Regions from separate parts of the Homo sapiens genome. Here all the other regions are linked to region 2. The links are contacts of gene promoters, found by promoter capture Hi-C in blood cells and fetal thymus (Javierre and others, 2016). All regions are on one chromosome and are shown on one strand. Each heading gives the region's core, a stretch centred on a gene start or on the middle of the fragment in contact. The rest is flanking DNA. Distances are from core to core; before and after follow the strand shown.

Region 1 (5,676 bases), core at 670-3,169, 150 kb before region 2:
ACCAGAAGCTAAGCAGTTGCCAGCACCATGCTTTCTGTAAAGTTTGCAGAACCATGGGCCAATTAAACCTCTTTTCTTTATAAATTACCCAGTCTCAGGTATTTCTTTATAGCAAGGCAAGAATGGGATAACACAAGAAATTGGTACAGAGGAGTGGGGTATTACAATAAAGATATCTGAAAGTGTAGAAGCAGCTTTGGAACTGGGTAATGGGCATAGAATGGAAGAGTTTGAGGGCTCAAAAGAAGACGGAAGTTGAGGTTTAGTTTAGAACTTCTTAGAGACTGGTAAAATGGTTGTAACCCAAATGCTGACGTGTGATATAGACAGTGAAGTCCAGACTGAGGAGGCCTCAGATGGAAATGAGGAACATACTGGGAACTGAAGTAAAGGTCACTTTTGATATGCCTTAGCAAAGAACTTGGCTGCCTTCTGTTCATGCCCTAGGGATCTGCGGAAGTTAAAGTTTTGAAATGATAATTTAGGGTATCTGATGAAGGAAATTTCTAAGCAGCCAAGCATTCAAGATGTGGCCTGGCTGCTTCTAACAACCTAACTCAGATGTGGGCACAAAGGAATACCTTAAAGCTGAAACTTATATTTAAAAGGAAAGTAGAGAATAAAAGTTTGAGAAATCTGCAGCCTGGCAATGTGGCAAAGGAAGAAAAAGCTCTTGAGGGGAGAAGAATTCAAGCAGGTTGTGGAACAACCACTTTACTAAAGAAATTTGCATACTTAAGTGGGTCAGGCGTGGTGGCTCACGCCTGTAATCCCAGCACTTTGGGAGGCTGAGGTGGACGGATCACAAGGTCAGTAGATCGAGACTGTCCTGGCTAACATGGTGAAACCCCATCTCTACTAAAAATACAAAAAAAAAATTAGCTGGGTGCGGTGGTGGGCGCCTGTAGTCCCAGCTACTCTGGCTGAGGCGGGAGAATGGCGTGAACCTGGGAGGCATAGCTTGCAGTGAGCCGAGATCATGCCACTGCACTCCAGCCTGGGTGACAGAGCAAGACTCCATCTCAAAAAAAAAAAAAAAAAAAGAAAAAAAAAGAAATTTGCATACCTATGAAGGAGCCAAGTGCTGATAGTCAAGACAATGGGGGAAAAGCCTTGAAGGCATCTCAGAGACCTCTGTGGCAGCCCCTTCCATTAAAGGCCCAGAATCCCTACTGCCACACACACAGCTTCATGACACTGCTCCCTGCATCCTGCTGCTCCAGCTTCAACTGGGGCTCAAAGGGGCCCAGGTACTGCTCAACATGCTACTTTGGAGAGTTCAAGCCACTGTAAGCCTTGGCAATTTGCACATGATTTTAAGCCTGTAGGCACACAGAGTTCAGAGTGAATGAGAATTTGCACCATCTGCCTAGATTTCAGAGGACATATGGAAAAGCCTGAGTGCCCAGACAGAGGCCTGCTGCAGGGGTGGGGAACCCCACAGGGAACCTCTACTATGGCAATGCAGAGGGGAAATGTGGGTTTGCCCCCCGCCCCAGAGTTCCCACTGGGGCACTGCCTAGTGGAGCTGTGAGAAGGGGACCGCCATCCTCCAGACCCCAGAAAGGAAGATCCACTGTCAGCTTGCCCTCTGCACCTGGAAAAGCCAAGAACACTCAACACCAACCCGTGGAAACAGCCATGGGTATTCAACCCTGCAAAGCCATAGGGATACAGCTGCCCTAAGCCTTGAGAGCCATGACTGACACCTCTCTGAGGAGCTTGCAGCAGTGTGACCTGGATGTAGAATATGGAGTCAAAGGATATTATTTTGGAGCTTTAAGATTTAATGACTGCCCTCCTGGCTTTAGGACTTGCTTGGGGCCTATAGCCCCTATTTTTTTGGCCAATTTCTTTCTTTTAGGATAGCAACGTTTACCCAATACCTGTATCCCTATTGTATCTTGGAAGTAAATAACTTGGTTTTGATTTTATAGGTTCATGAATGAAAGGGACTTTCCTTGTCAAAGATGAGACTCTGGACTTCGGACTTGTGAGTTAACACTGGAACAAGTTAAAACTTTGGAGGACTCTTAGGAAGGCATAAATATATTTTGCAATGTGAGAAGGACATAGATTTGGGAGGAGCCGGAGAAATATTGATATAGTTTGGATATTTGTCCCCACACAAATCTTACGTTGAATTGTAATCACCAGTGCTGAAGGTGGGAGGTGTTTCGGTCATGGGGGTGAACTTCGCATGACTTGGTCTATTTTTATGATAGTGAGTAAGTTCTCACAAGATCTTGCCATTTCAAAATTTGCAGCACCTTCCCCCAACTCTCTCTCTCCTGTTCTGGTCATGTGATGTGCCCGCTCCTGCTTCACCTTCCACCATGATTGAAAGTTCCCTGAGCCTTCACCAGAAGCCAAGTGGATGCCAGCACCATGCTTCCTGTAAATTCTGCAAATCATGAGCCAACAAAACCACTTTTCTTTATAAATTACCCAATCTCAGGTATTTCTTTATAGCAATGCAAGAATGGCATAATATATGATTACAGTTACCAATACCTTTTGATCAGGGGGTGGATTCATGTTAAATGTTCTTATCACACACAAAAAAAGTCAGTGTTGACCTAGTTGAAAAACTAGCTTATTTGTGACTCATGCTATATTAAAAAACAACTACTGAATAAATCAAGAGTGCTATTGTTTTTTCTGAGTGAAATTGTAATTGACCTATGTAACCCTTGTTTCAAATGTCCTTGTTAGAATTTTCAGAAAAATTTTAGTGGAGTATATTTTATAAACATCTCCTGACATTAACATAATTCTAGGGCTCATAGGGATGAATAAATCTAAATTCTGTCAAAATTTTAAAAAGAAAGAAAATTAAGAATGTAATTGCCTTTTAGCTCCAAATCTACCTTTACTTGTCCTGATTGTGTTACTGGAATGTTTCTCCTTTACCAGCAGACATGATGTTAAGCTCTTCTGTAGAAGGCGTGAAGGGACACTGAAGTTAAAACGGAGTTCTCTTCCCATTTCTGGCTGCTTTCATCTGCCTGGACATGCTGTGTGTGTGAAGTCTAGTAACAAGTAGGACGCCCAGTAGTGCTACTTCCCAGGCAGTACCATCATCAAAGGTATTTTGCCAGAAGGTTGCAAACAGAAGCATCCTCCCATAGATGCCCCCCACCCACAGAGTACTTCAGAGAGTGGTTTTCCAGCAAGTTCTAAAGTATAGCTCTTCCTTATGGATGGCTTCCCATGAGGACTAAGAGGGCAGAATCCAGAAGGCATTACATTGATTTCAAGAAATGTTTATTAAGCTATACTTTTAGTATTAGTATAAAGATGAACAAATAGATTAATGGAACAAAACAGAACACTCAGAAATAGAAACACATATGTATAATTAATTTTCTACAAAGCCTCAAGGCAATTTAATGGTAGAAGAATACTCTTTCCAATAATAATGCATTTGGATAGAAAAGAATCTTGAAATTTTTTCACACCATTTACAAAAATTAACTAGAGATGAATCACATCCTGCTTGTAAGAACTAATATTATTAAAAAGAACATTAGATAGAACCTTAGTGAGCTTGAATTTTTCAGAAACTTATTAAGTATGACAGAAAACACTTGAACTATAAAAGTCAAAGTCAATAAGTTGGACTTTATCAAAACCAAAGGAAACTTCTGCTCTTCAAAAGACATGGTAGAAAATTAAAAGCAAGTTACAATATAGTGAAAATATTTGCGTAATATACAAGTAACAAAAATATATATACCTGGAAAACATAAAGAACTCTTACATTTCAATTATGAAGACAAAGGAACTAATTAAAATATTGGAAAGAAGAAAATATGCCTCTAACTGAGGAATGGACAAAAGATCTGAAAAGACGCTCAACTAAAAAATATGTAGATGACCAATATACACACAAAAAAATATATTCAGTGTCTTCAGTCATCAAAAAAAACTTTTAATTCTAACCACAATTGGATACTATTATGCATCTACTTAATGTATGAAATTAAGACTAACACATTTTGTTGAGAATGTTAAGCAACTGGTAACTGTCATACGTTTCTGTTGAGAGTGTAAGAAAATAAAACCATTGTGTATATATACACAATGGTACAAAAAGAATGAACTGCGAAGTCACACACATAACGGATAAACCTCAAAAGTATGCTTAGTGATAAGAAGTTAGAAAGCAAATTGTTATTTTATTTTGATAAGATTCTTTATTGTCAAACTAAATTCTGGCAATAGAAAGCAAATCATTGGTTTCCTGCGGCTGATGGTGGTATAGGGGACACAATGGGATGGGGCATGTGAGAAAATTTAGGGGTAATGGAAATGTTCTATATCTTTTTTCATTTTCAATATCATTTTTATAATAAATTGCCTTGAGAGCCTTGTAGAAAATTAACTATACATATGTGTTTCTATTTCTGAATGTTCTGTTTTGTTCCATTAATCTATTTATTCATCTTTATACTAATATAAATGGTATTTTAAAGTGTAGCTTAATAAATATTTCTTGATTTTTTTTAAGTATTTTAAAACAAATACAGGCTGGATATTCTGTTGTACAACTTTTAACGCATTTGAAATCAGCAGAAAAGTTGCTTTGGGTAAGTCTGGGATTAAAGATTTGCCTATATCTGATTTTAATTGAAAAGCATTGCAAGAAGGGATAATATAAAAAATAAATAATTCTCTTTTAACTTGAAATTACTTATCTGTATGAATAAGTAATAAAGTACAATACAAATATAATGCAGAAACACATTGGAGGCTGAGCCTGATGTAGGGTAGAAACTGTCACTGATAACCCTTTGTTTCTGTCTTACATGCAAAGAAATGTTCTATATCTTGATCATGGTGGTGATTACATGTTTCTACATATACGTCAAAACATCAAACTATACACTTAAAATTGGTGTCTTTTATTGTATATAAATTATGTCTCAATATATTTGATTAAGGCATAAAACATAAATGAACCTGCACCACACACATGAGCTAATACTACAAAGCTCTAGGCACAAATATAAGGGAAGATTTCTTCAATCTCAGTTTAGGAAAACATTTATTAGACAAGACACAAGAAGTACTAAATATAAAAGAAAACAATTGTAAATTTAATTAATCAAAATTCAATAAAGCTTGCCCTCATTAAAAGACACTATTTAAATAATAGAAATGCAAGCCACAGACTTGGGGACAATATTCATAGTACATATGTGTTCCAAACAAACTTAATTCAGAATATATAAATAATAGGATTCAATAATTTTAAACTAATCTTATGAGCAGAAGACTAGGGTAATTTACTAAAATGGAATGGTCAATAGGCAAATGATAAAATAATGTTCAACATAATTAGATATCAGGCTAATACAAAATAAAACTAAATGAGGTACTACTTACCCTCACTAGAATTATTAATATATTAAAAATACAGGAACATAAAACAGGCAGTGCCAAAAGTTGGAAAGAATGTGAAGCAGCTGGTAGGAAAGTTATGTGGTGTACCCATACCGGAAAACATTTGGGAATCATATTATGGAGTTAAATGTGTACCTACCTTATGACCCCAGGAGTGCTACTCCTAAACATGTAAGAGACAGGACAAATGTCCACAGAAGATTTGTTCAAAATATGTTCATGGCAGGTTTATTTATAACAGCCAATAATAAGAATGAACCAAATGTC
Region 2 (5,613 bases), core at 594-3,093:
GAGTGATTTAGTAATCACTTCTTTCTCTTGTCTAAGAAACAGTCCTGAACCCACACATCTCATTCTCTAGTCTCTCACTATGTCTTTCAAAATGATGATGAGAGGCAAATTCAAATATGAGAGTTATAGTACTAGGAACAAGAGGGGAGAGAGAGAGTTGGGCTCACCTTTCCGTTTCAGTTCTGACTCCCCTGCTTCCATGAGCCCCGCTAGAAATCGAGGGCAGGTGTGACCAAGAAGGCTTTGCAGTATTTCCTTAATATCTAGGTAGCGATTGAGCACTTTACAGATGTTCTGGGCCCGGATCCCTGCTCCTGGAGATGGCTCCCAGGAAATTCCTTGGAAACTCAGGAAATCTGACCCTTGATATGCCATATTTAAGAAGATTTGTGGGGCATTCATTCTACAGCCAGCTAATATCTGGATCTCGAAGGGGTCTGAGAGTGGACAGGGAAGAGAGATCATTATGGAAAGAATGACAAGGAAGAAAAACAAACAATTTAGACAGTAAAGAGATTCAAGGGAAGAAAAATTTGCTGGGAAATCATATGGAGACTAGAGTTTACTGGCAAAGGGGAAGAAAATTTGTGGGAAGAAAATTTGAAGATAATAAAGATACTTTGAAATAACTAATGGGAAAGTGGTAGATGGGAAGGCTATCAGGAAGATAGGAGATTGGTCATAAATAATTCACGTGAAAGTGGTTAGGTACAGGCCAGTCCATGTCAACACTCAGGCAAAGGATAAAGAAGGGCAGAAAGAGGGTTGAGAAAGGCTGAGTCTGAGGGCAGGAATGAGGGGCAGAAGATCCAGAGGAGACAATCATTCCAAAGAGCCAGACATGAAGCTATATTCATGTTGAGATATGTACATGCAGGCCCTTTTGTGTATATGGTGGAGTGTGGGTGGTGGTGAAGGGTGAAGCAGAGGAGGGAGTGGGAGTCAGAGAGTGGGGAACAAGGTTAGTAAGGTTAAATGATGGTCAGAGTCTATATACTATCTTCCACTTTGGAAAATAGTTGGTGTTCCCAGGCAAATTATCAGCTTAGAGCAACGAACTTACATTCAAGCTGAAATTGACCAGCAGAAGCTTGCACTATCTGGATAAAACTATGGAAGTATAACTGGAACAGTGACTGTAAGTTTTTCAGCTCCTGCTTGCTGAAGTTTCCATGGGACCAGGGCTTCAGAAAGCGGATGGTGCCCAAGACAGTGTCCCAGCCATGAGTCTGCAGGTCACCCAGCCATCCTGAGCCCTCACTGTGTGCCCAGCTGTGGTTGGCAAAGGAGGAAGTTTGGAGCATGCGGAAGGACAGCTGCTCCTCTGCTGCTAGATGATAGGATTGTAGAGCCTGGGGAGCTGAGAGAGAGGGAAATGACAAGTAGAGAGAATGTAAAGGGATGGGAAAAGTGATGCCAAAGGGAAAAAAGGAACCCAGAGATGAGAGACAGTTAGGTAGCTTGTACATACTCCAATACCCTTTTCCTGTGGGGCCAGCTTCCTTTCTCCAAAATCAGAGACAAAAACTGAGACTGAGAGCAAGAATTCTCTGCCTGGAACTAGCCTGAAAGGCATATTCCAAGGGCATCCTAGAAGAGTACTGCTCCCTTCCCCCAGGACCTCCCCAGAGCTTCCTCTCAGCCCTCTGGTGCCCTACCATAGGTATCTTTCCACCTGCACTCTTCTTACCTGCTGTATTTTCCCCAGGACAGCAGAGACCCTCGAAGAGGAGGAACAGGAGCAGCATTGAAGCTCTGTTAAAGGAGGGATTCCTTGGCAGGACACCTGCCCTAATAATTCAGATATCAGTACCCCTCTCCACACCCTCTTGCACTCTCGTCTGACTTCCCTTGCTGTACAGACAGACAAACCTCTCCCTCTGCTGACTTCCCTGTCAGAGAAGCCACACTGCCTCGCTTTGCTGCAGCCTCCCACGGGGTTTTTCATTTCCCCTCTGCCTCTCTCACTGTCTGGCTCCAGATTTTCTCCCTGCTCTTGTGTACATCCTCCCAACCTCCCTAATTGCACTAACTGCTGGAAAACGAGTCCTGGCTTAAAACAAAGTCTGTGGTCTGGCTAGAAGATGGAGTAGCTTTTGGCCTTGTAGAAATCAAATCCATACTTGGCTTGTCAATAATCTAATCTGTGAGAAGTGATGGTAGTCACTCAGTGGTGCCTAGTGACCTATCCACCAGTCTCCCACTTCTACCTCTCTGTGATCCTCTCCTCCGCCTGTATCTCTTCACTCTGCTCTTGATCATGATCAGAAGACACTCAGCATCCTGGATGTAGCTGCATAATAAGCAGGCAACCCTCCATAATCCAACTCTCTGTGCTGCTGAAAAAGGAGCAGCAATGGCAATGCAGATTATCAGAAAATCTAAAGAAAGCTCCTTTTTTTCAGTTTCCCCAGTCAAGCCAACTGTCACTGTTAAAGTGGTCCATGAGTGGGCTTGACCTGGAAGTGGTGAGCTAGAGGGCAGGTAGATTTCACCCATGTTTTACAGGTGGCTCTGGAGGAAATACATAGGGGACTTGGATCCCCATCTCTACCCAAACGAAGAAAGCATGTCTGGAAGTCTGTGGGCCAGCTTTGCCCTGGGTATGAAGAAAGACTGAGGGCAGGCATGAAGCTCCTCATTAGTTCATGGCCTGAGAGCATTGGAGTCCCCTTGCTTGCGTTCGGTTAGAGAGCAGTTTGGGTGGACACAGGGAAGTACCTTTAGAGGACTGAAGTGTTCACTGGAGAATTAATTGAGTCTTTATTTTTGTTTCTTTTTCATTGATATTTGTTGTGACACTCTGAAGGCAGTTGAAATAACATTCCTTTGTTTGGTTTTTATATATTTGTTCAACTGACATTTATTCAGAGCCCACCTATGACCAAAAACAATTGCCAGGCCCTAAGATATCAGAGATAGACATCTTTGGGAAAAAATAAAACAAAATTCAACCCCAAACCTCTACTTTTCTTATACAGTAAATTTACTGAACGGTGGTCAGAATTATTGAAAAAGGTCCAAACCTAGTTTCATCTTATTATCATTTCTAAATTCTAAGTTAAAAGAAAGATAAAAAGTTTCCTTGTTTCCTGAGTAGAATATCTACATTTATTTTCAATACTCTTTCTGTGCTGGAGAGGTGCTGGAGAGGATGTGGAGAAATAGGAACACTTTTACACTGTTGGTGGGACTGTAAACTAGTTCAACCATTGTGGAAGTCAGGGTGGCGATTCCTCAGGGATCTAGAACTAGAAATACCATTTGACCCAGCCATCCCATTACTGGGTATATACACAAAGGATTATAAATCATGTTGCTATAAAGACACATGCACACGTATGTTTATTGTGGCACTATTCACAATAACAAAGACTTGGAACCAACCCAAATGTCCAACAATGATAGACTGGATTAAGAAAATGTGGCACATATACACCATGAAATACTATGCAGCCATAAAAAATGATGAGTTCATGTCCTTTGTAGGGACATGGATGAAGCTGGAAACCATCATTCTCAGCAAACTATCACAAGGACAAAAAACCAAACACCGCATGTTCTCACTCATAGGTGGGAATTGAACAATGAGAACACATGGACACAGGAAGAGGAACATCACACACCGGGGCCTGTTGTGGGGTGGGGGGAGGGGGGAGGGATAGCATTAAGAGATATACCTAATGTAAATGACGAGTTAATGGGTGCAGCACACCAACACGACACATGTATACATATGTAACAAACCTTCACGTTGTGCACATGTACCCTAGAACTTAAAGTATAATAATAAAAAATAAATAAATAAATAAAAATAATTAAAAAAAGAAAAAAAAACTGCAAACAAAAAAACAAAAGAAAAAGGTCCAAACCTAGTTTCATCTTATTATCATTTCTAAATTCTAAGGTTAAAGAAAGATTAAAAAAAGTTTCCTTGTTTCCTGAGTAGAATGTCTACATTTATTTTCAATACTCTTTCTTTTCTACAAATACATTCAAAGCTATAAGTTGCTATGTAAATCTATCTATAAATCGCTATGTAAATCCAAAATTGGTTTCATAATAAAATTATGAACAGTAAACAAAGATAAATATTCAAGAGAATATATAATAACCTACAAAAACAATAATACATAATAAAAAGATTGGAATGACCTATGCCAAACATCAATACTACAAGTAACTGTATTCCTTAGAATTTTTGTTTTGTTTTGTTTTTTCCTGAGACGGAGTCTTGCTGTCTTGCTCTGTTGCCCAGGCTGCAGTGCAGCCACAGGATCTCGGCTCATTGCAACCCCCGAATCCCTGGTTCAAACGACTCTCCTGCCTCAGCCTCCTGAGCAGCTGGGATTACAGGCAAGAGCCACCATGACCATCTATTTTTTGTATTTTTAGTAGAGACAGGGTTTCTTCATGTTGACCAAGACGGTCTCGATCTCCTGACCTCGTGATCCACCCGCCTCGGCCTCCCAAAGTGCTGAGATTACAGGCGTGAGCAACCGTGCCCCGGCCATTAGAATTTTTGAATCAGGCCAGGCACGGTGGCTCACACCCGTAATCCCAGCACTTTGGGAAGCCAAGGCAGGCGAATTCGAGACCAGCCTTGCCAACATGGCGAAACCCTGTCTCTACCAAAAAAAGTAAAAATTAGCCAGGTGCCATGATGTGTGCCTGTAATTCCAGCTACTCAGGAGGCTGAGGCAGGAGAATTGCTTGAGCCTAGGAGGTGGAGATTGCAGGGAACTGAGATTGTGCCACTGTACTACATCCTGGGCAGGAGAGTGTGACTCTGTTTCAAAAAAAAAAAAAAGAGGGAGAATTTTAAAATCATTTGCAAAGTAAAATAAAGCAAAGTATATTTAGAGAATAAAACAATGTTGTTATTCCACAAAAAATTGCACTTTTATGTAAGTAAAGATAACCACACCCTAGTTTTTAATTTTGAGGCTACAGAACTCACAGATAACTGCAAATTACTGAGCAAAGTAGAAATAATGTCTGACAGCAACCCCATAATCATTAACAAAATAATGAAATTCCTTCTAAATTAAAATTATCCAGAAGATAAATTCCAAAGAAAAAATATATATTAATTTTAATTTTTGTAACATTATATGGTACAATTATTTCCTTCCTGCTTTACAAAATTCCATCAGTGGGCCAGGCACAGTGGCTCACTCCTGTAATCCCAGCACTTTGGGAGGCCGAGGCAGGCAGATCAGGAGGTCAGGAGATCGAGACCATCCTGGCTAACACGGTGAAACCCCTCTCTACTAAAAATACAAAAAAATTAGCAGGGCGTGGTGGCACGTGCCTATGGTCCCAGCTATTCGAGAAGCTGAGGCAAGAGAATCGCTTGAACCTGGGAGGCAGAGGTTGCAGTGAGCCAAGATTGTGCCACTGCACTCCAGCCTGGGCAACAGAGAAAGACTCCGTCTCAAAAAAAAAAAAAAAAAAAATATTCCATCAGTGCCTAACCACATTTTTTACTAAAAATACTTAGTGTCTGTGGCCAGAGGTCTCTTTTAAAAAGAAATTCCCCCTCTTATGTTTTCCTGAGGCTGCCCCAGTCACATTCGCAGATCCCCTTTTGCCAAAACCAGAAAATTCTCT
Region 3 (5,468 bases), core at 335-2,834, 140 kb after region 2:
GCCATAACATTACCTGACTTCAAATTACACTACAATACTATAACTATAGTTACCAAAAAAGCATGGTATCAGTATAAAAATAGGCATGTAGACCAATGGCGCAGAATAGAGAACCCAGAAATAAAGCCAAATACTTACTACCAACTGATCTTTGACAAAGCATACAAAATCACAAAGTAGGGAAAGGACATCCTATTGAAGAAATGGTGCTAAGATAACTGGCAAGCCACATGTAGAAGAATAAAATTGGATCCTCATCTCTCACCTTATACAAAAATCAACTCAAGACGGATCAAAGACTTAAATAGAAGACCTGAAAACATAAAAACTCTATAAGATAAAATCAGAAAAACTCTAAAAGATAAAATCAGACATCGGCTTAAGCAAAGAATTCATGACTAAGAAGCTAAAATCAAATGCAACAAAAACAATAATAAATAGAAGGGATATAATTAAGCCAAAAAGCTTCTGCACAACAAAAGAAATAATCAGCAGAGTAAACAGACAACCCACAAAGTGGGAGAAAATATTCATAGATTATGCAGCTGACAAAGGACTAATACCCAGAATCTACAAGGAATGCAAACAAATCAGCAAGAAAGAAAACAAATAATCCCATCAAAAAGTGGGCAATGGACATGAATAGACAATTATCAGAAGAAGATATAAAAACAGCCAATAAACATATGAAAAAATACTCAACATCACCAATGATCAGGGAAATGCAAATTAAAACCATAATAAGATACCACCTTACTCCTGCAAGAATGGCCATAATTTTAAAATAAAAAAAAATTAGATGTCAGCATGGATGTGTTGAAAACGGTACACTTTTACACTGCTGGTGGAAATGTAAATTAGTACAACCACTATTGGAAAACAGTATGGAGATTTCTTAAAGAACTAAAAGTAGAAACACCATTCAATCCAGCAATCCCACTACTGGGTATCTGCCCAAAGGAAAAGAAGTCATTATAGAAAAAAGACACGTACATGAACAGGTTTATAGCAGCACAATTCTCAATTGAAAAAACATGGAATCAACCTAAATACCCATCAACCAACAAGTAGATAAAGAAAATGTGGTATATATGCACCATGGAGTACTACTCAGCCATAAAATGAAATGATATAATGGCCTTTGCACGAACCTTGATGGAGTTGGAGACCATTATTCTAAGTGAAGTAACTCAGGAATGAAAAACCAAACATTGTGTGTTCTCACTTATAAGTGGGAGCTAAGCTATGAGGATGCAAAGGCATAAGAATGATATGATGGACTTTGGGAACTTGAGGGGAAGGGTGGGAACAGGCTGAGAGATAAAAGACTACATAATGAGTACAGTGTACACTGTTCAGGTGACAAGTGCACCAAAATCTCAGAAATCACCATTAAAGAATTTATTCATGTAACCAAAAACCACCTATTACCCAAAAACTATTGAAATAAAATAAGATAAAATTTGAGGATATTTGATGAGAGTTACAGAAAAACTAGAAAGGAAAAACAAAATGAAAATATATGAGAATATAAAGATGTATGAATTTACAAGGACCAAAACTCTATTCTTAATGGAATATATGTCTTAGCTAGTACAGCAGATTTCTCTTTCTTTTCTTTGCCTCCACTCTACTGACAAATTCCCATATGAAAGGTCAAGAACCAAAGTTCAATATGTTTGGTCACACAAATTCCGAATTCTTCCACTAAACCATCTCTCTCCCTCTCCCTCTCACTTTCTACCTTCTTCATTCGCTTTCCTTTTCACATATGAATTCCAGTTTTCATCCACAATGAAGCAGCAGGTACCTGTATATAAATACCCATCATTGGATAGGGATGAGAAATTCACGTTTCTTTGGATGCATGAGCACAACAATCACTGAAGCCATCATAAAGCCCAATGTCATATTTCCCCTTAATTGAGAGGACAAAATATATATCTCTTTAAAGACTCAAACCACAAGAGTTTAGTATCACATGGCTAAGAAAAAGGAGAATTTAAAAGCTACAGAAAAGATAAAAATAGTTGCTTTTAAAACTAAAGGATTTTTTGGCCACCAATTACTCCTATAAAGTTTATGCAGAATTCTGCTTACAGCCATGATGAACTAATTAGACCTGGACTTAACTTCCCACTATAAACAACTAGGAAATGGCAAAAAATATGAAACAACTGGTTTCAGATATTAACCATGATCCATTAGCGAATAGAAACAAACAAAATCAGCCATGTGACAGCTGTAGTTCAATGCACAGATGCACTTTCCAGACTACTATGTTGGAGGACAAAGAGTCTCAAAGAGAGCATGACATGCATGCTGAGTTAAGGAGATAGAGAGGGAGTTTGGGGAGGCTGTGGTGGCTGTCATTTGTAAAACAATGTACTAGAAAAGGGGCACTTAGGTACACAAAGACTGCATAGGACTTCCCTTGAGTCTGTTGACAAATACAAAGCTGTCCACACATACTACAAAATTTCACAAGGCATGGCAAAGAATGACTAAGGTTTCATGAGCTGTAAAATCAAAATCCCCTGAACTCACACAGAGTAGGAAAATTTTTGAATTCTGAATAATTAGAATGGGGAGTCTTAGTGGAATAGCCAGGGCATTCAATAATAACTCCAAGATCATAATGACTTGTAATATGATGACATAGCCTCAAAATAGACTATTTTACACCTACCCTAATAAAGCTTCAAAACAAGCCTTGTAAAGCTCAATCTGATCCTTAAATAATTTAACAGCATGCCATAACAAAGTCCAACACTTTAAAATAAGAAAACAAAATCTTGAGCTTAACAACACAAAATTCATAATGTTTAGCATCAAATCTCAAATTGCTAGACATTACAACCAACCAGAAAACCATTAACAAAATGGCAGCAATAAGTCTTAACCTACCAATAATAACTTTGAATGTAAGTAGATCCAATTTCCCATTTAAAACATATAGACTGGCTTAGTGGATTAAAAAAAAAAAAAACTACCCAACAATATGTTTCCTAGAAGGGATTTGCTTCACCTTAAAGGACACTTATAGACTGAAAGTAAAGGGATGAAAAAAGATATTCCATGCAAATGGAAATCACAGGACAGCATAAGTAGCTATACTTATTTTGGCCAAAATAGACCTTAGGTAACAAAAAAACTATGAAGAGAGACAAAGAAGGTCATTATAGAGTGATAAAGGGATTGATTCACCTTAAGGATATAACAATTGTAAATATATATGCACCCAACATTGGAGCAACTAAATGTGTAAAGCAAACATTAATAGATTTAAAAGGAGACACAGACTGCAACACAATAGTAGTGGAAGATTTCAATAACCCACTTTCAACAATAGCCATACCATCCAGACATAAAACAATAATAAGGAAACACTGGACTTGAACTACACTTTAGACCAAATAGACCTAGCAGAAATATATAGAACATTCCCCCCAACAGCAACGAAATACATATTATTTTCAAATACATATAGAAAATTCTCCAGAATAGATTATATGCCAGGCCACAAAAGAAGTCTTAATAAATTTAAGAAGATTGAAATTATAACAATTATCTTTTTGGCTACAACAGAATAAAACTAGAAAGCAATAACAGAATAAATTATGGAAAATTAACAAATATGTGGAAATTAAACCTTATGCTCTGGAATAACTATTGGGTCAAAGAAGAAATTAAGAAGAAAATTTAAAAATATCTTGAGGCGGCCGGGCGCGGTGGCTCACGCCTGTAATCCCAGCACTTTGGGAGGCCGAGGCGGGCGGATCACGAGGTCAGGAGATCGAGACCATCCTGGCTAACACGGTGAAACCCCGTCTCTACTAAAAATACAAAAAAAAATTAGCTGGGCGTGGTAGCGGGCGCCTGTAGTCCCAGCTACTTGGGAGGCTGAGGCAGGAGAATGGCGTGAACCCGGGAGGCGGAGCTTGCAGTGAGCCAAGACAGCGCCACTGCAGTCCAGCCTGGGTGAAAGAGCGAGACTCCGTCTCAAAAAAAAAAAATAAAATAAAAATAAAAATAAAAATATCTTGAGGCAAATGAAAATGGCAACATAACATACCAAAATGTGTAGGATGCAGCAAAACAGAGTTCTAAGAAGGAGGTTTAAAGGAATAAATTCCTGCATCCAAAAAGAAGAAAGATCTCAAATAAACAACCTAACACTACACCTCAAGGAAACTGGAAAAAGAAGAACAAAATAAGCCCAAAGTTAGCAGAAGGAAAGAATAACAAAAATCAGAGTAACACCTAGAAAAACAATAGATAAGGTCAACTAAACTAAGAGTTGGTTTTTTGGAAAGCTAAACAAAATTGACAAACCCTTAGCTATACTAAGCAAAAAAAAAAAAACAAAAACAAAAAAAAAAGAGCAAGAAAGAAGACTCAAATAAATAAAATAAAAAATGAAACAGGAGGCCGGGCGTGGTGGTTCACACCTGGAATCCCAGCACTTTGGGAGGCAGAGGCAGGCGGATCACTTGAGGGCAAGAGTTTGAGACCAGCCTGGCCAACATGGAAAAACCTGGTCTCTACTAATAATACAAAAATTAGCTGGGCGTGGTGGCAGGTGTCTGTAATTCCAGCTACTCAGAAGGCTGAGGCAGGAGAATCACTTGAACCTGGGAGGCAGAAGTTATAGTGAGCTGAGATTGTGTCACTATGCTTCAGCCTGGGCAACAGAGCAAGACTCCATCTAAAAAAAAAAAAGAGGCCGAGCACGGTGGCTCACGCCTGTAATCCAAGCACTTTGGGAGGCCAAGGCGGGTGGATCACCTGAGGTCAGGAGTTCAAGAACCAGCCTGTCCAACATGGTGAAACCCCAACTCTACTGAAAATACAAAAATTAGCTGGGTGAGGAGGCGGGTGTATGTAATCCCAGCTACTTGGGGAGGCTGAGGCAGGATAATCGCTTGAACCTGGGAGGCAGAGTTTGCAGTGAGCCGAGATCACACTATTGCACTCCAGCCTGGGCAAAAGAGTGAGACTCAGTTTCACCAAAAAAAAGAGGAGCAATTACAACTGATAAGACAGAAATACAAAGGATCACAAGAGACTGCTATGAACAACTATACGACAAGAAATTAGATGACCTAGAAGAAATAAATTCCTAGAAACTCGTAACCCAATAAGACTTGAATTATGAAGAAATCAGAAATCTGAATAGACCAATAACAAGTAAGATATTGAACAAGTATTAAATGTCTCTTCAAAAAAAAAAAAAAGAAAAAAAAACCCAGGACCGTATGGCTTTGCAGCTGAATTCTTTACCAAACATTAAAGAAGATCTAATACCAATCCTCCATTCCATCATCTGGAGAATAGTAAGAAATGCGAATTCCTGAATTTATCCCTGAACCAAAGAATTAGAAACTCCAGACCCAATGATTTTTAAAAAGCCTTCCAGGTGGTTCTGATGCCCACTTAAGTTGAGAGTCCCTGATAAAGGAGCATAT
Region 4 (5,829 bases), core at 3,276-5,775, 130 kb before region 2:
ATTTGCTGTTTTGCTTAGGCAAATGTTTAATAAAATTTTGAAATGGGACTAGAACCAAGAGTTTTATTTTCTATCTCTATACATCTTTGAATGGCCTTATCTCTAAGCTTTATAAATAAAGAATATACACCATGCATTTGACCAAAACAGAGTCCTCACTAACATTCTTCCTGAGACATCTTCTATGCCTTTCCACTTTCCATATATCCTTTCTTGGAGTGTTTTCTCACTTACAGGCTCATCGCCAGTATTAATAGTGACAAAGTAAGCAAATAAAGTTGGTGCACCTGAATGAAAAGTAAGGTCACATTACTCAGTATTTACTCTATAACTCCTACCCCATCAACCATCTGTTCTTTCAAACTCATCCTTGGAACCTATGTGGAACTAATAGTGAAAAATAAAATTTACTATGGAAATCTTTGACTTTACTTAACTCAGTCTAGGATACTGCTTAAAGTAACTGCTAAATAGGAGATAGTGACATGAGTTTGGAAGGCAAGGCATTACAGGTTGAAAGAAAAGCTTAGAAAAATGAGAAAGAGAGAGAAAAAGAAAAGAAGAAAAATAGAGTAACTAGATCACCTTCTTAACAAGTAGAAATTGTGAATTGATATTTTCACATTATACCGCTTAGTAACTCTTCATCATCTACAGGTAAAGTCAGAATTCCTTAAGCTGAATCATAGGACATCTGATTCTCTGTCTCACATACATTTACAATCTAATCCTCTAAGTTTTCATCACACAGGAATTGTACTGAAATACAGTTTCCATTATATGCCCTTGTGTCTCAAGATTCCACTGGAAGAGAGAGAGAGAGAGAGAGAGAGACAGAGAGACAGAGAGAGAGAGCGATCTCAGCCTCCAATATCATTTCCTCTTCATGTATGGCCCACTCATTCCTCACATTTTTTGAGTCATCAATTATTGAACTTTCTCCAATATGTCTAGGGAGGGTGTGCTGTTCCCTTCTTAGTAATCTAAAGCTTGTCTAGTATGTCTTCATCAAAATACTCAACATGTTATATCTAATTTTTTTTTCCTATTGGTCTCTCCAATAGATTTAAGAGTCCCAAGGATAAATGCCTCATCTTATTCCCTTTGTATCCTCAACTTTATCCAATATTTAAATAAATGAGATATGGATACTTGATGAAAAAATAAATGTCTATTAATGAATTAATAATAATTCCAATTAGTTTATTTTGTAGTAACTTGGTTTCCCTAAGAGGCACTACCATGTGCCTCTTAAGTGAGAAACACTTCTGTCTTCCTTATACATTCTATGTTTACTGTAAATTTTTTATTCTTTCTTTCCAAAACTAATACTACCTCCACCCTATGAAATAATCAAGACTTAGCCTGAGTCTCTGCCTTTGTCTTGGCCTTGGTCTCAATTTTTATCCTTATTTTCTTCACTATTCAGCTTTGCTTTCTGTCATTTGGTCACAATTTCTATTTTTCATTACTAATAACTAGGGATAAACAGATCACTAGCTCATGGAAAAACTCAACAATTTTTAAATTTGACATACAAATAAATGACTGTCACTGGTCTTCTTAATAAAAAAATCAAGGTCTCTAAATAAAAATTAAAATTTTACATTTCTTCAAATCAGAGTTCTAGTGCCTTGTAACCTGCCAGTTAATTCATTCTCAGGCATTTCCTAGAAACTTCTGTAAAGGGTTTCTAAGTGAAATTTGCCAAAATTGCCTTCCCTGTCATGATGCCTCAGGGTTCTTCTTCATCTTTCAGGAACTCCCAAGACCAAAATAAGAAAATAGCATTACTCCAGAGAAAAATGTTACCTGTGCCCTGTCTCCATGGGTGCTTTAGGTAGTGCCTCAATGGGTGTCATCAATGGCCTTTCCTTTTTACATTAGCCATGGTCTCAATGCCTTGGTTGGTAAGTGAGCTCGCCATCTCCACAGGGAGCTAATTACCACATTGTGCCCAATACTTGTCCATAATTTTTCTAATTAGCATGTGGAACCATGATAATACACTATGAGAATTCATTGGCCAAAGAAAAAGCCCTATTATTCATGGGGATTAGTTGACTTCCTCTTGGAAATTCTCTAAGGAGTCAGAGATGTGGAGATTCTCCAGGCAACATTTGTTAAAATATACATCAATGAAACTATCTCCTTTGAATTTCCCTACATAGTGCCTCTAGAGTTTCGTTCTGAAGTTGAAGAAAAGTATTCTTTTTTATGCTGCTACACATTCCTATTTCTGAAAGCTAAAAGAGAAGAAGATATAAAGAATAGAGGACAGAATATTAGAATGGCAGAATCTTTCAGATACATTAGAAACAGGTTTGCTTCTGGAATATAATGTGAATTTGGTAAATATTTCCTCAGTATATGAATACAGTTTGGGTTATAGAGAAAAGTGTGACAATGCCTTCATGTAGGTTTTCACAAAGCCCATCAGCTTTCTCCCCATTTCAGCTCACATATCGATTCTTTCTGACAGTGAGTCCATCCACTTGGGCTGGAAATGGGTCAAATGCTAGACATGCATGGACGTCTCTCTAAGGTGCTCACGTGAACTGCTCTCGTATAAGTCATGTCCCGCATGTTCTCACTTATAAGTCAGAGCTGAACAATGAGAATACATGGACACAGGGAGGGAAATAACACATACTGGGGCCTATGGTTGAGGGGCAGGGGAAGGGAGAGCATCAGGATAAATAGCTAATGCAGCTGGGCTTAATACCTAGGCGATGAGTTGATAGGTGCAGCACACCACCATGACACATGTTTACCTATGTAACAAACCTGCACATCCTGCACATGGATCCCAGAACTTTAAATTAAATTAATTTTTTTTAAAAAAAGATGCTGCAGCAATGAGAAAACAAGAGAAAAGCCCAAGTGATTAACCCAGACAGGAACTTTTGGTGGCTTCCTCCTTCCCCTGAATCCAGATAGGAAGAGTGACTACTTTGACAAATAAATTATAGTAAATGTAAGACTGTATCCGTTTATTAACCCTAGTCTCTAAAGTCTTGTAGCTGCTACTTATGGAGTGTTGAATCATCTACTTTTGTACCCTAGTAACCATGTTTTGAGGAAGCCCAAACAGCCCTTGGAGAATCTATATGGTAAAAAACCAAGGCTCCTGGCCAATAGCCCCAGCTGAGCAAACAACCAATAGCTAACACGAATAAAACAGGCACATAAGTGAGCAATCTTGAAAGTAAATCCTTCAGCCCCAATTGAATCATCCAACCTGCTGGGACAAAGAACAAATTCCAGCTGTCCCCACTGAGCCCTGCCAAAATTGCAGACTTGTGTGCAAAATAATTACAGCTCATTTAAGCAACTAAAGTTGTAGAGAGTTGATTATGCAGCAGTAAATAATGAGAACAGAATTTGGTATCTAAAGGCAGGGTGCTGTTATAATCAACATTTAAAACATTTGGCATTAATTTTGCAATTGGTGGTATAAATAATCCATAAGGACTTAAGGAGTCTCTTACTAAAAGGTGAAAGGATCATAAGGCAACTCTTGGTAAAGCTTTGAAGCACAGAGAGAAAAATATTTGAAGGACAGAGAGGAAACTGTTATCATACTTAGGTAAAACATGGATACTTATTATCCATTGCTCTAAAGTTTGGCAGCAGGACCACATGCTACAGCCTGGAAAATAGACTATTTAGTAATCTCATTATCTTCCTGGGTAAATTTCTAGGAAGACTATAGAAAATTCCAACCAATGATAAAATATGAAAAGAGAGTAGACAGCAGGATACTAGAGGAAGGGAATAGTAGAGAAAAGGGAAGGATAGGTGGAGATTTGCTAAAGGATACAAAATTACAGCTAGATAAAGGAATAAGTTACAGTGTTCTTTGCTACTGTAGGATGACTATAGTTAACAGTAATGTATAGATTCAAATTGCCAGAAGGAGGGTGTTGAACATTCCCAACATGAAGAAATGATAAATGTTTGAGATGATGATATGCTAATTACCTTGATCTGATCCCTATAACATTATTTATATCAGAATATTACTATGCACCTAAGGAATATGAACAATGACTATTTGTCAATTTAAAAGTACATAATTTTTTAAAGTTTCTTAAGTTTCTGAGAATTTAGAGGAAACAGAAAGAAACAAAACTTGTTGGGTTTGCAAATAAAGATGTTTCTCATGCACAGTCTCTCTCAACAAAGACTCTCAAGGTACAAAATGGCTTCAAGGAAGAAATCAAATCCAAGGTGCTATCAGGAAACCAATGCCTCAGGGTAAACCTCTTAAGAATGTAGCTGTAATACTTTTTGTTAGAACTCAGAAATATTTTAGGCTATACCCAACAAGATTTATAAATATCCTAAGGGCCTGACTCCTTAAAGTTAAGCAATAAGTCTTTTTAAGAATCTTAAGGGAATTGCCATACAGCAGTTATTAATACTGCTACCTCACAAGTGACCCATAATAAAGAAATGAATATGGATGTGACTTTTATCTAATGGAATTAATTTATAAACTGAAACATAAGAAACTCACCAAGTTTTAAAAAGGCATTCTATCAACATGTGCTAAAGGCTACAGAGCAAACAGAAATGAATAGACCTTTGGACCCTCAACTTCTTCCATGGAGGTATCAGACTAAGAAATGACATGTCTGCAAATTGTAGCTATGTCTTGCAGATAAAAAAGGATGATCAGAAAGTGGGGAAATGGCATCACAGGTTAGATCTAAGAGTCATGGAATTCATTCCCAGAAAATAGGACTGGCAACAGTGTCCAGATGAATTTCAGAATTTCTATGGACCAATGACTGTGATGTGTCTAATTTCCTCCTTTTTCACAAGGGAATGTCCATTGCTATTCCTATGCCCATCACATCATTGTCTTTTTGGGTGTCAGGAGCAGACAACCTGCTGGTATTATGCCTTAAAAGACTAGCAGCTTCCTCTTTCTGTTTCTTGGAATGTTTAGTCTTTGAAACCAGTCATGATGTTGTGAGAAAGTTTATAGAACCCCATGAAAAGGGCCACATGGAGAGATACTGACTCTCACAACCTATAGCCCTGACTCAGCTCCACTACAAATCAGCATCATTTTGCCAGCCGTGTAAATGAGCCAAATGGAAGTGGGTCCCTCAATTCTAGTTGAGCAGCTCAGTTGACATTGTATGGAGTTAAGACAAGCCAATCTTATAAGCCCTCTCCCATTTAAGAGATTAATGAGCAAAATAAATTATCATTGTCATTGTTATTTTTAATTACTGTTATGGGGGACATAAATATTGCTACACTTTCACATGTAGTTTCAGATGTTTTTCTTAGCTAGACCAAGAAGTCATTTATTCAATTAAAGTTAAGAGACATGTATTAGTTATCTCCTGAATGTCAGGGATATAAAAGACATTTAGGAGGAGTTAATGTATCGGTATAATAAATTACTTCCTTTCACGTTGTTGATTGTCCATTAGAGAAAATAAGATATGTACATAATCAGCTCAATATGTCAGAGCTCAGTAAGAAGTATAAGTAAAGCTTACAATGCTATGGTGTTTTGAAGAATGGAAATCAGGTAATACTTCATGAAACAGGTGAAAATAAAAAAAACTTTGATGGTAGACATTGGACAAAGAAGGAGATAATCTTTTCAAATAAGACCTTTTTTGATTCTTAGGCCGGTACAGGACCATTCTCCATAGGATCCCACTTTATAAGCTGTAAGTAAAGAAATGTGGTGCACAGAATGGCAAATTTATGTTTATCTTCTACTGCCTTTTTAATTAATGATGGCTATAGTATGATGATGGCAAACAAGGCCATTTTGTCACTGCAAATTATTTTCCTGTA

What was found. The method cuts DNA at HindIII sites, captures the fragments that hold promoters and counts their contacts. A CHiCAGO score of 5 or more calls a contact.
Region 1: a contact is called between a fragment that was not itself captured here and the fragment with the promoter of CD1E in region 2, in 1 of 17 cell types (fetal thymus). The highest score is 5.8, in fetal thymus.
Region 3: a contact is called between a fragment that was not itself captured here and the fragment with the promoter of CD1E in region 2, in 1 of 17 cell types (fetal thymus). The highest score is 6.6, in fetal thymus.
Region 4: a contact is called between a fragment that was not itself captured here and the fragment with the promoter of CD1E in region 2, in 1 of 17 cell types (fetal thymus). The highest score is 9.0, in fetal thymus.

The regions. Positions count from the first base shown.
Region 1 is chr1:158,497,269-158,502,944 of GRCh38, reverse strand. No RefSeq gene overlaps it. Among named protein-coding and RNA genes, the nearest start is that of OR10R2, 28 kb to the right of the region's middle. The HindIII fragment of the contact is 6,418 bases long and covers 1-5,128 here.
Region 2 is chr1:158,350,124-158,355,736 of GRCh38, reverse strand. It overlaps CD1E (CD1e molecule), which reads right to left and starts at 1,843. Exons shown (of 6, transcript NM_030893.4): 1 at 1,691-1,843; 2 at 1,064-1,360; 3 at 168-437. The coding sequence starts at 1,748. The HindIII fragment of the contact is 6,143 bases long and covers 1,093-5,613 here.
Region 3 is chr1:158,205,832-158,211,299 of GRCh38, reverse strand. No RefSeq gene overlaps it. Among named protein-coding and RNA genes, the nearest start is that of CD1D, 28 kb to the right of the region's middle. The HindIII fragment of the contact is 2,234 bases long and covers 468-2,701 here.
Region 4 is chr1:158,483,003-158,488,831 of GRCh38, reverse strand. All of the region lies in intron 2 of LOC107985213 (a long non-coding RNA gene), which reads left to right. Among named protein-coding and RNA genes, the nearest start is that of OR10R2, 14 kb to the right of the region's middle. The HindIII fragment of the contact is 1,988 bases long and covers 3,532-5,519 here.